Linked DNA regions of Homo sapiens: region 1 is linked to region 2. Evidence: promoter capture Hi-C in 16 types of primary human blood cells and fetal thymus (Javierre and others, 2016). All regions are on one chromosome and are shown on one strand. The core of a region is centred on a gene start or on the middle of the fragment in contact, and the rest is flanking DNA. Distances in the headings are between cores, read along the strand shown.

What was found. The method cuts DNA at HindIII sites, captures the fragments that hold promoters and counts their contacts. A CHiCAGO score of 5 or more calls a contact.
Region 1: a fragment that was not itself captured here is called in contact with the fragment with the promoter of GFOD2 in region 2 in 1 of 17 cell types (erythroblasts); the score reaches 5.1 in erythroblasts.

The regions. Positions count from the first base shown.
Region 1 is chr16:68,049,652-68,056,349 of GRCh38, reverse strand. It overlaps DUS2 (dihydrouridine synthase 2), which reads right to left. Exons shown (of 17, transcript NM_017803.5): 5 at 2,695-2,786; 6 at 1,733-1,776. Among named protein-coding and RNA genes, the nearest start is that of DUS2, 30 kb to the right of the region's middle. The HindIII fragment of the contact is 1,675 bases long and covers 2,882-4,556 here.
Region 2 is chr16:67,716,524-67,722,482 of GRCh38, reverse strand. It overlaps GFOD2 (Gfo/Idh/MocA-like oxidoreductase domain containing 2), which reads left to right and starts at 3,167. Exons shown (of 3, transcript NM_030819.4): 1 at 3,167-3,320. RefSeq lists silencers at 3,250-3,299, 3,360-3,409 and an enhancer at 3,770-3,849. The HindIII fragment of the contact is 1,149 bases long and covers 2,972-4,120 here.

The sequences.
Region 1 (6,698 bases), core at 2,470-4,969, 330 kb before region 2:
AGGAGTAAAGGTAATAAGTATTGAATTAGAGCAAAGAAGGTGAAATTAAAGGCATGGATGGGCCTGTGCTCATGAACCTCTTACCCTGTCCCTGACTCTATGAAACACACCAACCCCCAATGACAGAAGCTGAAAAATGGGAAAGAAACCCATCCTTAAAACGTGCACCTGCCTCATCTAAGCAGAAATCCAGAGAAAAGACATAATGTGTGCACACATCTATAAAGGGCTAGATGAAGAGGGCTTTGCTACTTTGGAGTTGTATCAGATAACTCAGATGGGCACACTGAACTCGGCTGAAATAGTAAAAGCCATTTGTCAATGCAGAAAAGTGACATGAGCCTAAGAGCCCTTTGCCAGACGACAGCTTCTGGTGGAAGTTCTAGCACTGCCTTTGTTGGCTGGGCTGCACAGATGGTTTAATCCAAACAATTCTTAGATGTCAAAAGAATCCTCACTCCGTCCTCTGGTATGTATTAGGTTGGTGCAAAAGTAATTGCGGTTTTTGCCATTGAAAGTAATGGCAAAAACCGCAATTACTTTTGCACCAACCTAAATAGTAATACATAGTTAATAGTCCGTGATCAGCAGCAATAACTGCCTGAGTTCCCACTCACTCTTTGTAATTATAACGATAGCTAACACTTACTAAGATGTCAGTATGTGCCACATGCTGCAAAGACATTTACAGGCATTATTTCATTTACCCTTCCCTATGCCAGAGGTTGGTAGCACTATTTTATAGGTGAGAAAACTAGGTTCTCATTGAGGTTAAGCAACTTATCTCAGGTCACACAGTTAACAAGTAGCAAAACCAGAATTGCAAACCAGGTCTGTCTTAACTTCAAAACCTATCACATTAACTATAGCACTCTCCTGCCTTTGTTTTTGTTCTTGAGACAGGGTCTCACTGTGTTCCCCAGGCTGGAGTCCAGTGGCGCAATGGAGGCTCACTGCAGCCTCGACCTCCTGGGCCCAAGTGATCCTTCCACGTCAGTCTTCCAAGTAGTTGGGACCACTGGCATGCACCACCATTTTTGTAGAGATGAGCTCTGCCTATGTTCCCCAGGCTTCCTATCTATGTTAATTCAGGAAGCAATATGTCTTACCTATACTTTGATACTTAAAGCTTCAGGACTCATAGTCATGGGAGTCCCTGGGAAGGAGTTTCACGAATAAATACAAAAAAACAGCTCCCCCCAATATGCATAGAGGGTCTCTGAGATCTAGGCACTGTAGGTACACATGAGTCCCAGGCCAGCCCTTGGATGCCACAAAGAGAAGGAAACTAGACACTCTTTTTTTTTTAAGACAGAGTCTCGCTTGGTCACCAGGCTGGAGTGCAATGGCGCAATCTCGGCTCACTGCAACCTCTGCCTCCCGGGTTCAAGCGATTCTTCTGCCTCAGCCTCCTGAGTAGCTGGGACTACAGGCACGCGCCACCACACCCAGCTAATTTTTGTATTTTTAGTAGAGACAGGGTTTCACCATGTTGGCCAAGATGGTCTCGATCTCTTGACCTCATGATCCACCTGCCTCAGCCTCCCAAAATGCTGGGATTACAGGCATGAGCCACCGCACCTGGCTGGAAACCAGGCACTCTTAACCTGGAAACAGAAGGTAATGGGCTAGAAGGCAGAAGGGTGAGTCACCTACAAAGTCACCAGGACATTAAACCCTCACAGCTCAAAGGAGAGGCAAAGGCAGTGCTAAAGACAGAGGATGAACTTACACAAGCCTGGCCACAGCAAGGGCTCGCTCTGCGTCTGAAGTCCCCTGGGAACACAAGAGGCTGCATCAACCACTGCCCTGACACAGATACACATGCACTGACAAACACACCCATGCAGCACACACATACACACACACACCCCACACACCAACAACAGAGTCAGGCTGGCTTTCTCTTAAACAGCCAGCCCACTAGACTAGCTCACTGCCAGCAGAAAAAGGTGGACTTGGAAGGTCTAGAAAATGTTATCTATACTATGATTACACTCAAACATATAAAAAACTTGAAAACATTTTATAGTGACCATTCAAACACTCACCATTTAGATTCTACAATTAACATTTTGCTAGATTTGCTTTATCACATGGTTACCCATTGTTAACTTATAGTGACCATTCAAACACTCACCATTTAGATTCTACAATTAACATTTTGCTAGATTTGCTTTATCACATGGTTACCCATTGTTAACAATTTTTTAGAAACCTAAACATCATTAAGGATGTTTCTGAAAAAGCACCAAGAAATGCCCAAAGCGAGAGAAGGGCACTATAGAGTCATCACAACTCAAATACAAATCTTAACTACTCTTGAAAAATCCTAATATTTTTCTATGAGAAATATATACACACTACATAAAAACAAAGACTATGATCTGAGTAATCAATGCTAGGGATAAAAAAATAGAGAAATCATGCCAAACAGACAATTCCTACAAGTAAGTAAATTAAATTTGAGACTAGAGACATATAAGACTGTGATAGCTTGATTTCCATAAACTGTCTCCAATAGTATAATTACTCATGACTGGCTCTTTGGAAAACATTAAAGCAGAATCTTCAGGAAGCCATCGTTGTACAATGTACCCCAGGTATTCAACACTGGCCTGGCACAGGGCATGAGTTGGGAAATCCCAGGGGATGGTGAGCCTCAGGAGGGCATGCAGCAATGGAGTCTCTCACCATCTGGAAGACCACCCTGTTCTGCTCTCTTTCACAGGTGCGGAAGACAACTCGATCATCAGGGGCGACAAAGTCCACTGTGCTGAGCACCTCTGCAAGAAAACCCAAACACATAGGGTCACTCAATGAAGATGCAAGTTCAACGCTAGCCTAAGCCCTGGAAGAAAACACAGCCAGAGTATAAGCTTCAAGGGGAAAGAGATCCTAAATGTATACCATTCTTACCAAAAATAACTATGCACATGGGAGGCTTCTGTGATGATGAGGATGGTCTATTTCCTGACCTGGGTGATGGTTGTTCATTTTGCAATTACTTGTGAAACTGCATGTTTGTGTTTAATGCACTTTTTCTGAATGGTGGTTAACATTTTGCAACGTTTAAAATGTTAAAACCGGGCCGGGTATGGTGGCTTACGCCTGTAATCCCAGCACCTTGGGAGGCCGAGGCGGGCGGATCATGAGGTCAAGAGTTCAAGACCAGCCTGGCCAACATGGTGAAACACCGTCTCTGATAAGAATACAAAAATTAGCCAGGCGTGGTGGGGTATGCCTGTAACCCTAGCTACTCGAGAGGCTGAGGCAGGAGAATCGCTTGAATCTGGGAGGCGGAGGTTGCAGCGAGCCGAGATCGCGCCATTGCACTCCAGCCTGGGCGACAGAGCAAGACTCCGTCTCGAAAAAAAAAAAAATGTTGAAACAAAATGTACATACATAGCCGGGCGCAGTGGCTCACGCTTGTAATCCTAGGACTTTGGAAGGCCAAGGCAGGTGGATCATGTGAGGTTAGGAGTTTGAAACCAGCCTACACAACATGGCAAAACCGCATCTCTACTAAAAATACAAAAATTAGCTGGGCGTGGTGGAGGGTGCCTGTAATACCAGCTACTCAAGAGGCTGAGGCAGCACAATCTCTTGAACCTGGGAGGCAGAGATTGCAGTGAGCTGAGATCGCGCCACTGCACTCCAGCCTGGGCAACAGAGGGAGGCTCTGTCTCAAAAAAAAAAAAAAAGTCCATACATGGAAGTTTGTCTATGTTTCAGATTTGGCCCAAATTTTCCCAGAAAACATCACTCTGAAGTTCAGCAAATTTACTATTTACTTACAGTGAGACAGGTGCTATGAGTGGAAGGTTACTATATAACAATCAATCTCCTATACTATTCATAGTTGCATATTTGCAAATGTGCCTATTTGCTAACATTTATTTGTGACCCCAAAATCAATACTTGTGATGTTTTCATGGTCATCCAAGGACAGGAACAGAGTGGTGAAAGTTTTGAGTTGCCTGATGTGCATGTTCCCAGCTGAGGTCAAACAAGGTGATGCTCTGTCTTCTCCCTTCAGCTCTCATACTGTCAACAAGTGTCCCTTTTGTGGTATATTTCATGCCACATTTCTGCATGTCTATGCTTTTTGTTGGTGATCTCACTGTTTAAAATGGTCCCAAGTGGCTGGGTGCGGTGGCTCACACCTGTAATCCCAGCACTTTGGGAGGCCGAGGCGGGTGGGTTACCTGAGGTTAGGGAGTTCGAGACCACCCTGGGCAACATGGTGAAACTCAAGTCTCTACTAAAATACAAAAAAAAAAATTAGCTGGGTGTGGTGGCACACACCTGTAGTCCCCACTACTTGGAAGGCTGAGGCACAAGAATCTCTTGAGCCGGGAAGGCGGAGGTTGCAGTGAGCCAAGATCACGCCACTGCACTCTAGCTTGGGCTACAGAGTAAGATTCCATCTCAAAAAATATAAAATAAATAAAATAAAATGGTCCCAACCATACTGCTGAAATGCTATCTAATGTTCCTAAGCACAAGAAAACGGTCATGGGACTTACAGAGAAAATACACATCTTGAATAAGCTTTGTTTCGGCATGAAATTATAGCACTATTACCCATGTTAGTGGGTTCAATGTTAAGTGAATCAATGGTATATATTAAATAATATGCCTTTAAACAGAAACACATGGCCAGTGTGATGGCTAAGTCCTGTAATCCCAGTATTTTGGGAGGCTGAGGCAGGGGGATCACTTGAGGCCAGGAGTTTGAGACCAGCTGGGGAACATAGCAAGACCCCCATCTCTACAAAAAATTTAAAAATTGGCTGGGCATGGAGGTGTGCACCTGAAATCCCAGCTACTTGGAAGGCTGAGGCAGGATGATCATTTGAGCCCAGGAGTTTGAGGCTGCAGCGAGCTATGGTCACACCAGTACACTCCAGCCTGAGCAACAGAGTGAGACCTGGTCACAAAAAAGAAACCAAACAAAAACAAAGAAACACACATAAAACAAAGTTATGGACTGACAAGTTGATGAAAATATGACCAGAGGCTTGCACAAACCTAACCCTTTGTTTACCCCAGGGTCAATGGTTCAGTATCCGCTCATTTGATGTTTAAAGCAACTTTATAGAAACAACAACGGTGCATAATGAGAAGCAACTGTATTTTATCTGTCAGCTTCCTAAAGAAGCTCCACAATAGGTGCTACCATTACTAGCTTTCAAAGATCACTATACATGAAAAAGACTGAACGTGGCAGATGGGAGAATATGCCTACCTCAAAGGCTGTCTTGAGAAATAAATGAGATCTTTGATGCACTTAAAGTATTTCCATACATGGATGGTTTTATTATCATCCAGCACTAAACAGATGAGAAGGTTTTTAGGGTGGGATAAAGGCAATGACATGTTGAGAGAGGTAATCAAAGTGATCACTGACAGAGACAGCTCATGACTGGCAGTAAGAAGTATGAGAGAAGAACCACAAAATATTTGTGTGTTTATAATGCAACTCTGTTTATAACAGCAAAATACTGGGAACCCCTGTTAAGGCTCTGGTAAAATCAATTCTGACATAGTTGCCCCTAGGTACTGACATGGGCAAATGACCTAGTAGATAAGTAAATGGCAAAACAACACGTGTTGTATGATCAAATGGGGTGGGGAGATAGATAAATATAGATATAGATATAGATACAGATATAGATATAGATACATTTTTTTTCCTTATCTTCAACCTAGAAGAGGGATATATATAAACACGTCATATTTTGTACACACACATTATTTACTATATGTATAGAAAAACATACATTATTCCTCTCTCTGATTACCTCTTTAGGTGTAGGATTATGGAGGATTTTCATTTTCTAGGTTACACAGATCTATAATATTGAATTTTTTATCACACAGAAAAAAATATACACATTTAAAATAGTTCGGCCAGGCATGGTGGCTCACACCTGTAATTCCAGCACTTTGGGAGGCCAAGGCAGGCGGATCACGAGGTCAAGAGTTCAAGACCAGACTGGCCGCCATGGTGAAACCCCTTCTCTACTAAAAATACAAAAATTAGCCGGGTGTGGTGGCGGGCACCTGTAGTCCCAGCTACTCGGGAGGCTGAGGCAGGAGAACTGCTTGAACCTGGGAGGCAGAGGTTGCAGTGAACCAAGACCGCGCCGTTGCACTCAAGCCTAGGCAACAGAGGGAGATTCCGTCTCAAAAAAAAAAAGATTTCACAAGCATATACGTATGTATCAGAAAACTCAAGGAATATACCACAACTCTAATCAAAGCAGAATCAGCCTCATCAATAAAGTATCAGCAAAACTACAATTCATCACAATCACATTTGCACAGAGCATAGGGCGTCCACAGTACTTACATGTACCTTATCTTATTTGGTCCTCACTCCAACCCTATGATTGAAGTAAAGCAAAGACTATGATTTCATTTTACAGATAAAGGAACTAAGGCAGACAGAGGTCATATGGCCTGCCCAAGGTCACACATCTAGCAAGTGGCCAAGCCAGGGCCAATGCTAAAGCCATCCTGACTCCAAGGCTCCTAGAGTCCCTCCTATGCTATGATGCATGGTGATTTCTATGCCAGCAAGCCTGTGAGTGAAAGGCACTCTCAGCCTGTTTCACATCAGGCTTTTTGTCATGGCCTCTGGAGATCAGTGACTGCTCTCAAGGGAGCATGTGATCTATAGAATTACTCAA
Region 2 (5,959 bases), core at 1,918-4,417:
CAAAAATAAGGTATTAAGAATACATTTCAGAGCCAGGTGCAGTGGCTCACCCTGTAATCCCAGCACTTTGGGAGGCCAAGGCAGGCAGATCACCTGAGGTCAGGAGTTTGAGACCAGCCTAGCCAACATGGTGAAACCCCGTCTCTACTAAAAGTACAAAAATTAGCCAGGCGTGGTGGCGGGCGCCTGTAATCCCAGCTACTAGGGAGGCTGAGGCAGGAGAATCGCTTGAACCTGGGAGGCAGAGATTTCAGTGAGCCAAGATCACACCATTGCACTCCAACCTGGGTGACGAGTGAAACTCCATCTCAAAAACAACAACAACAACAACAAAAACATTCCAGGGCCAGGTGCATTGGCTCACGCCTGTAATCCCAGCACTTTGGGAGGCCAAGGCAAGAGGATCGCTTGACCCCAGGAATTCGAGGCCAATCTGGGCAACATAGACCCTGCCTCTACAAAAAATAGAAAAAATTAGCTGGACATGTTGGTGTCTGCCTGTGGTTCCAGCTTCTCAGGAGGCTGAGGCTGGAGGATTGCTTGAGCCTGGGTGGTTGAGGTTGCAGTGAGCCATGATTGCGCCACTGCACTCCAGCCTGGATGACAGAGCAAGGCCCTGCCTAAAAAAATAAAAAATAAAATTCCAAATATGCTCGCCTCAAATACTGCACAGTCAGAAAGTTTTCTGGGGGTACCTCTTTTGAGAGTTTGTTTTTGGGTTTTTTTTTTTTTTTTTTTTTTTTGAGACAAAGTCTTGCTCTCTCTCCCAGGCTGGAGTGCAGTAGCATGATTATGGCTCACTGCTACCTCAACCTCCCAGGCTCAAGTGATCCTCCCACCTCAGCCTCCCAAGTTGCTAAAACTACAGGTATGTGTCACCATGCCTGGCTAAGTTTTGTATATTTTATAGAGAAGTTTCACCATGTTGGCCAGGCTGGTCTCGAACTCCTGGTCTCAAGCAATCCTCCTGCCTTGGCCTCCCAAAGTACTAGGATTACAGGCGTGAGCCACGGCACCCAGCCTGACGGGTATTGAAATTAGCTTCCTGTCTCTTGCCTGAGGAGCAAGAGCTTGTTTCAAAATCCTCGCACCGTTTACTGTGTTAACATGGAAAGTTAACCTCTTTCTCCGAGACTGTTTCCCCATCCTTAAAACATGGTAAATCCTTCTGCCCCGTGGAGGTAGAGGATTATGGCAGATATACAGCAGTGTTTGGCACACAGGGATACACACAGTACACATGAGCATCCTTCCTCCATGAGGATGCCCAGTGGTGTGACTGGCCCACTCCTGCCTGCCCTGTCCCCGAGGCACCAGGGTTTTATGCAGAGGAGGGATACGGTAGATCATGCTGGTGTCCACCTGAAGGTGGTACTGGAGACAAATTGGAGCAAAAGAACCCAGGTAGGAGGCTGCAAAGAGGGCAGGTTTGAGAAAGATTTAGGAGAGAATTGGAGGTACAAGATGAATAACTGAATGTGAGGGAAATAGGAGAAGCAAGAGACAAGGCAAATGCAGACTTTGGTTGGGGGTGATGGGATGGATAATAGTACCACAAAATAACACAGAACAGAAGGGGGCAGGCAGTGGCTAAAAGTCACTGGAATTGGGAGGTTTGCCAGTAAATTAGGGGAGGTTTGCCAGTAAAAAAGTCACTGGAATTGGGAGGTGGTCCAGTAAATTAGGAAAACTGTCTTATGGATGTTCACAGTGATCGCCACCAGCTAATTAAAAGCTCAATCCTGTGTTAAAATGTGTTGCTTAACCCTGCACTTTCCAAACTTAAGTTACTACAGACTGTGTCACTCAGCAGAATCTTACAGGACTATTACTCTATAGAATGCTCTTAGGGAAGAGGTAGCATAAAGGGGAAAATATGGGTTTTAGATTAAGCATAAAGTCCTGGTTCTATATAAGTAAAGCCAGAGTAGGCTCATTTCCCCCTAGACTAGTGGTTCTCAACTGGGAATGATTTTGCTCCCAGGGAGACACTTGGCAATGTCTGGAGATATTTTTGGTAGTCACAACTGGGCTTGGGGTGCTACTGGCATCTACTGGGTAGAGCCAGGGATGCTGCCAAACATCCTACAATGCAGACAGCTCCCCCCACCCCTGCCCAACAAAGAATTATCAGGTCCAAAATGTCAATAGTGCCACTGTTGAGAAATCCTACTCAAGAAGAGTGGAACTCCGAACAATGACTAAGAAACAGATCAAACAGGCACATTTTGACTCTGCCTTCCTTCTGCCTGGCTCTAGAGGATCCAGGAGAGAAAGGATAAAATCCCATCAGAAGAGGGGGGGTTTAGGGGTTACAACTTCTCATCACTTTGGAAGCCTTCCATGCTCCTCACAGAGGTGGTAGGAGTCCTGTCTCCGCTCAAAGCAGGGATAGCTCTGCTGCTAGTTAGCATATCTCAGTAGGAACTGCCTCACGCTTAGGTCAGCTGACATATTCTGTCACCACAGGCTGCTCTGGAATGATGGCTGGGAGATCATCCTAATGCCAGCTGAGTGGGGATCTTGATACTCAGCAGGAGGGTCAGACAAGCAGGGACGGGGGCTCCCCATGCAGATACAAACCCCAATCACATTTCCTACACAGGCAGTTTTATTCTAAGGTCTAACGGCTTCCTTACTCTAGCGGATAGTTTGCTATTTGGTGGGGCATAGGCTTCAGTAAAGAGGCCAAGGGGACTGAGGTTACAGTCTTGAAGAGCACTGATATTTAAGGAACAATCAAAAAACATCCAGAGGAAGAGGAGCCCAGACAGGCACCTGAGAAAACGGAAAAACGAGTCACTGGGGGTCAGGGAGCCAGGAAGTCCGACGAGTTCGAGAGAACTGGCCTTCTGCAGATATGTCCTTGTCCAACACGAAACCGTCTTTCATTCCAGGACAACTGAGGCTACCCACAGCTACCAAAACCTGGTCCCTGACGCCGGTCAGCGGACCGGAGAGAAGCCAAGCTTAGGAAACTGCCGCCTCCGCCGCCGGAAATGAATAACCTGAGCCTCCTAGCCAGGCTGCTTAAGCTCCGCCCCCAAAAAGCGAGCATGCGCAGCTCCCGGCTACGGCCCCTCCCAGCGCAGGCCCATCCCCGTTATGGAGCATGCGCAGTCCTCCTGCCGTCCCGCCCCTCCCTTTCCAGAGCCCCCAGTTCCTTAGAAACCAGGCGGCGCGTTCCCGGTGGCGGCGCCCTGGACTCCCGGGCCCGCGCATCCCCGCCAGCCTTCCTTAAGGCGGATGGGTGGCCCCCGAGACCCCGTCGGACCCATGGTTTCCAGTGCAGCGCGGAGTGGGCGATGCCAGCGTGCCAGGTGAGAGGCGGCCACCGGTGGCGGGTGAGGGCGAAAGAGGGCATGGCGCGGCCGGGAGCGGGCGCCGACAGGGCCTTCTCCGCGGCCCGGCGCCGGAGGTTGGAGGCGTGGACCCGCAGAGCCGGGGTTGGAGGGGGCTTGTTCCAACTGCCTGCAGGCGCGTGGAGTGGAGGGTCGCCTTGGGATTCGCCCTTTCCACCGCAGAAATAGGACCCGCAGGCTTGGTGGTAGAATTATAGGATTTGGGATCCTGGAAGAACCTGAGACATAACCCATCCTTTTACCAGATGCAAAAACCTAGTCTCCCCCGCCCTGTGCCGAGCGGACCACCTGACTGTGTGAGGATGGACGCTTTGTGGATGAGGATGTGTGAGGTGTAGAAGCTCAGACAAAGGGCTCGTGGGGTAGCTGGTTCGTCCCCTTTCAGAATGAGATGGGACTTTTGGGGATAAATCTTTAAGAAACGGGTGTTCAGTTGACAGGTGGAAGAAGGGACACCCCAGAAGGTGCGAGTGGCTCTGCCAGCTCCCATGTGCCCTATGGCCACGTCTCAATGGCCCTGGCCTACCTTTGTATTTGTAGCTCTGGAAGGAAGCAGATGGACTTGAGACAAAAGGTGAAGTGAGGTCTTCCCATCAAGGCCCTATCACACTTAAAAGGTGAGGGAGGAAGAGTGGACAGGGACATGAGGGCTTGGGAATGGTTGTGTGAAGAGTTTACCCTCCAGACTACAGCACGATCTAAAGAACAAGGCAGGATAGAAGAGTTGAAAGCTGTATTGGATAGGCATCAGGGAAGCTTATTTAACTGTCTTATTTATGTTCATTGTTCCCATAATGTTATCCTGAGGGCAAGAAAGTGGATGTCCTTTTAAATGTCCAGAAAGAACTAGGGCAGGGCACCACCTTTGTGATCTGTGGGGCCCAAAAGCCTCTAAAGGAATAGCCCTTAGTGTGTGGCCCTTAAGTTGAAGGGAACAGCATTTAATTTAGAAAAGGAAGGCACTTAAATTTATTGTGATATGGAGCAATATAGAGAAGATGGTTGTTTTTGAGTCGGGGAAGCTAGATTCATTCTTGATAAGGAAACTTATTTCCTTCTGGAAAGCTACACTAGAGAACAAAAGAGTTTTAAGGCCATCCATTTTACAGGAAACGTGAAAAAATTAACTGCTTTGGGATTGGGAGTTTAGAGAACCTGCCTGGACCAAGAGAGGAAATTTTCAACAGACGGTTCTGTTGGTCGAATCCTTATTTCACAGATAAAGATTCTGTTGTGAGAGGTTATCTCTTACCACCTGGTTTTCCCACTTTGCCATGGAATAATCATTGGTCTGGGTCTAATTCTCTATCTATCTATCTATCTATCTATCGAGACGGAGTCTCACTCTGTCACCCAGACTGGAGTGCAGTGGTGCGATCTCGGCTCACTGCAATCTCCGCCTCCCAGGTTCAAGCGATTCTCTGGCCTCAACCTCCTGAGTAGCTGGGACTACAGGCATGTACCACCACGCCCAGCTAATTTTTGTATGTTTAGTAGAGAAGGGGTTTCACCATGTTGGCCAGGCTGGTCTTGAACTCCTGACCTCAGATGATCTGCCTGCCTTGGCCTCCCAAAGTGCTGGGATAACAGGTGTGAGCCACCACACCCAGCCCTCATTATTATTTTTATTTGCTAGGGCAATTGCTATCTGATTTCTATAGTAATACTAGAACACATTGGTAGTAGAACTAGCAATTTTTTAGAAAGCCTCCTCTGACCCAAAACTTAAAAATTAGAACTATGTGATTTTTAAAAGATGGTCCCTGATTCTAATCATCAAAGTCAGTTTGTCCCTAGCTTGATAAAAACTAATTTTCTATTTACATTTGACTTTGCAGCAGGTTTTTCCCCTTGCCCTTATAAGAAGATACATTGGAAGTATAATAATGTTAACAGGTGAAATCAGTTTAAAGAAGAAAGCTTTGGGCCGGGCGCAGTAGCTCATGCCTGTAATCCTAGCACTTTGAGAGACCAAGGTGGGTGGATCACCTGAGGTCAGGAGTTTGAGACCAGCCTCACCAACATAATGAAACCCCGTCTCTACTAAAAATACAAAATTATCGGGGCATGGTGGTGCACGCCTGTAATCCCAGCTACTTGGGAGGCTGAGGCAGGAGAATCGCTTGAACCTGGGAGGCAAAATTTGCAGTGAGTCGAGATCGCGCCATTGCACTCCAGCCTGGACAAGAGCTAAACTCTGTTTCAAAAAACAAAAAAAGAAGAAGAAAACTTTGTCTTGGCTTCATAATTCAGCATCATACCATAACTATGGGTATTGTGACTGTGCTTTTTACCAACTTTTCTTGCACCTGTGGGGTTATTTTGTATAAATACCTCAGGAGTTATAATGGGGCATTATCAAAAGCAAATGTAACCTCTGGGGAAAATCAGTACTGTTAACCAAATTCTGTCAGAAAGGCTTCATGAAAATCATTGTGTTCTGTGCAGAAACCTTCATTACTTTCACGTTGACCCAGAGGAAGGTAAGACAAGTAGGCCAAAATCAAGTCAAGGTAAAATGGAAGGGAGCAGTTGCCACCTGTGGAACTGGATGGACTGTGGGAGGGTGTTTTGAACGTGGGCACAAATACTTTGAA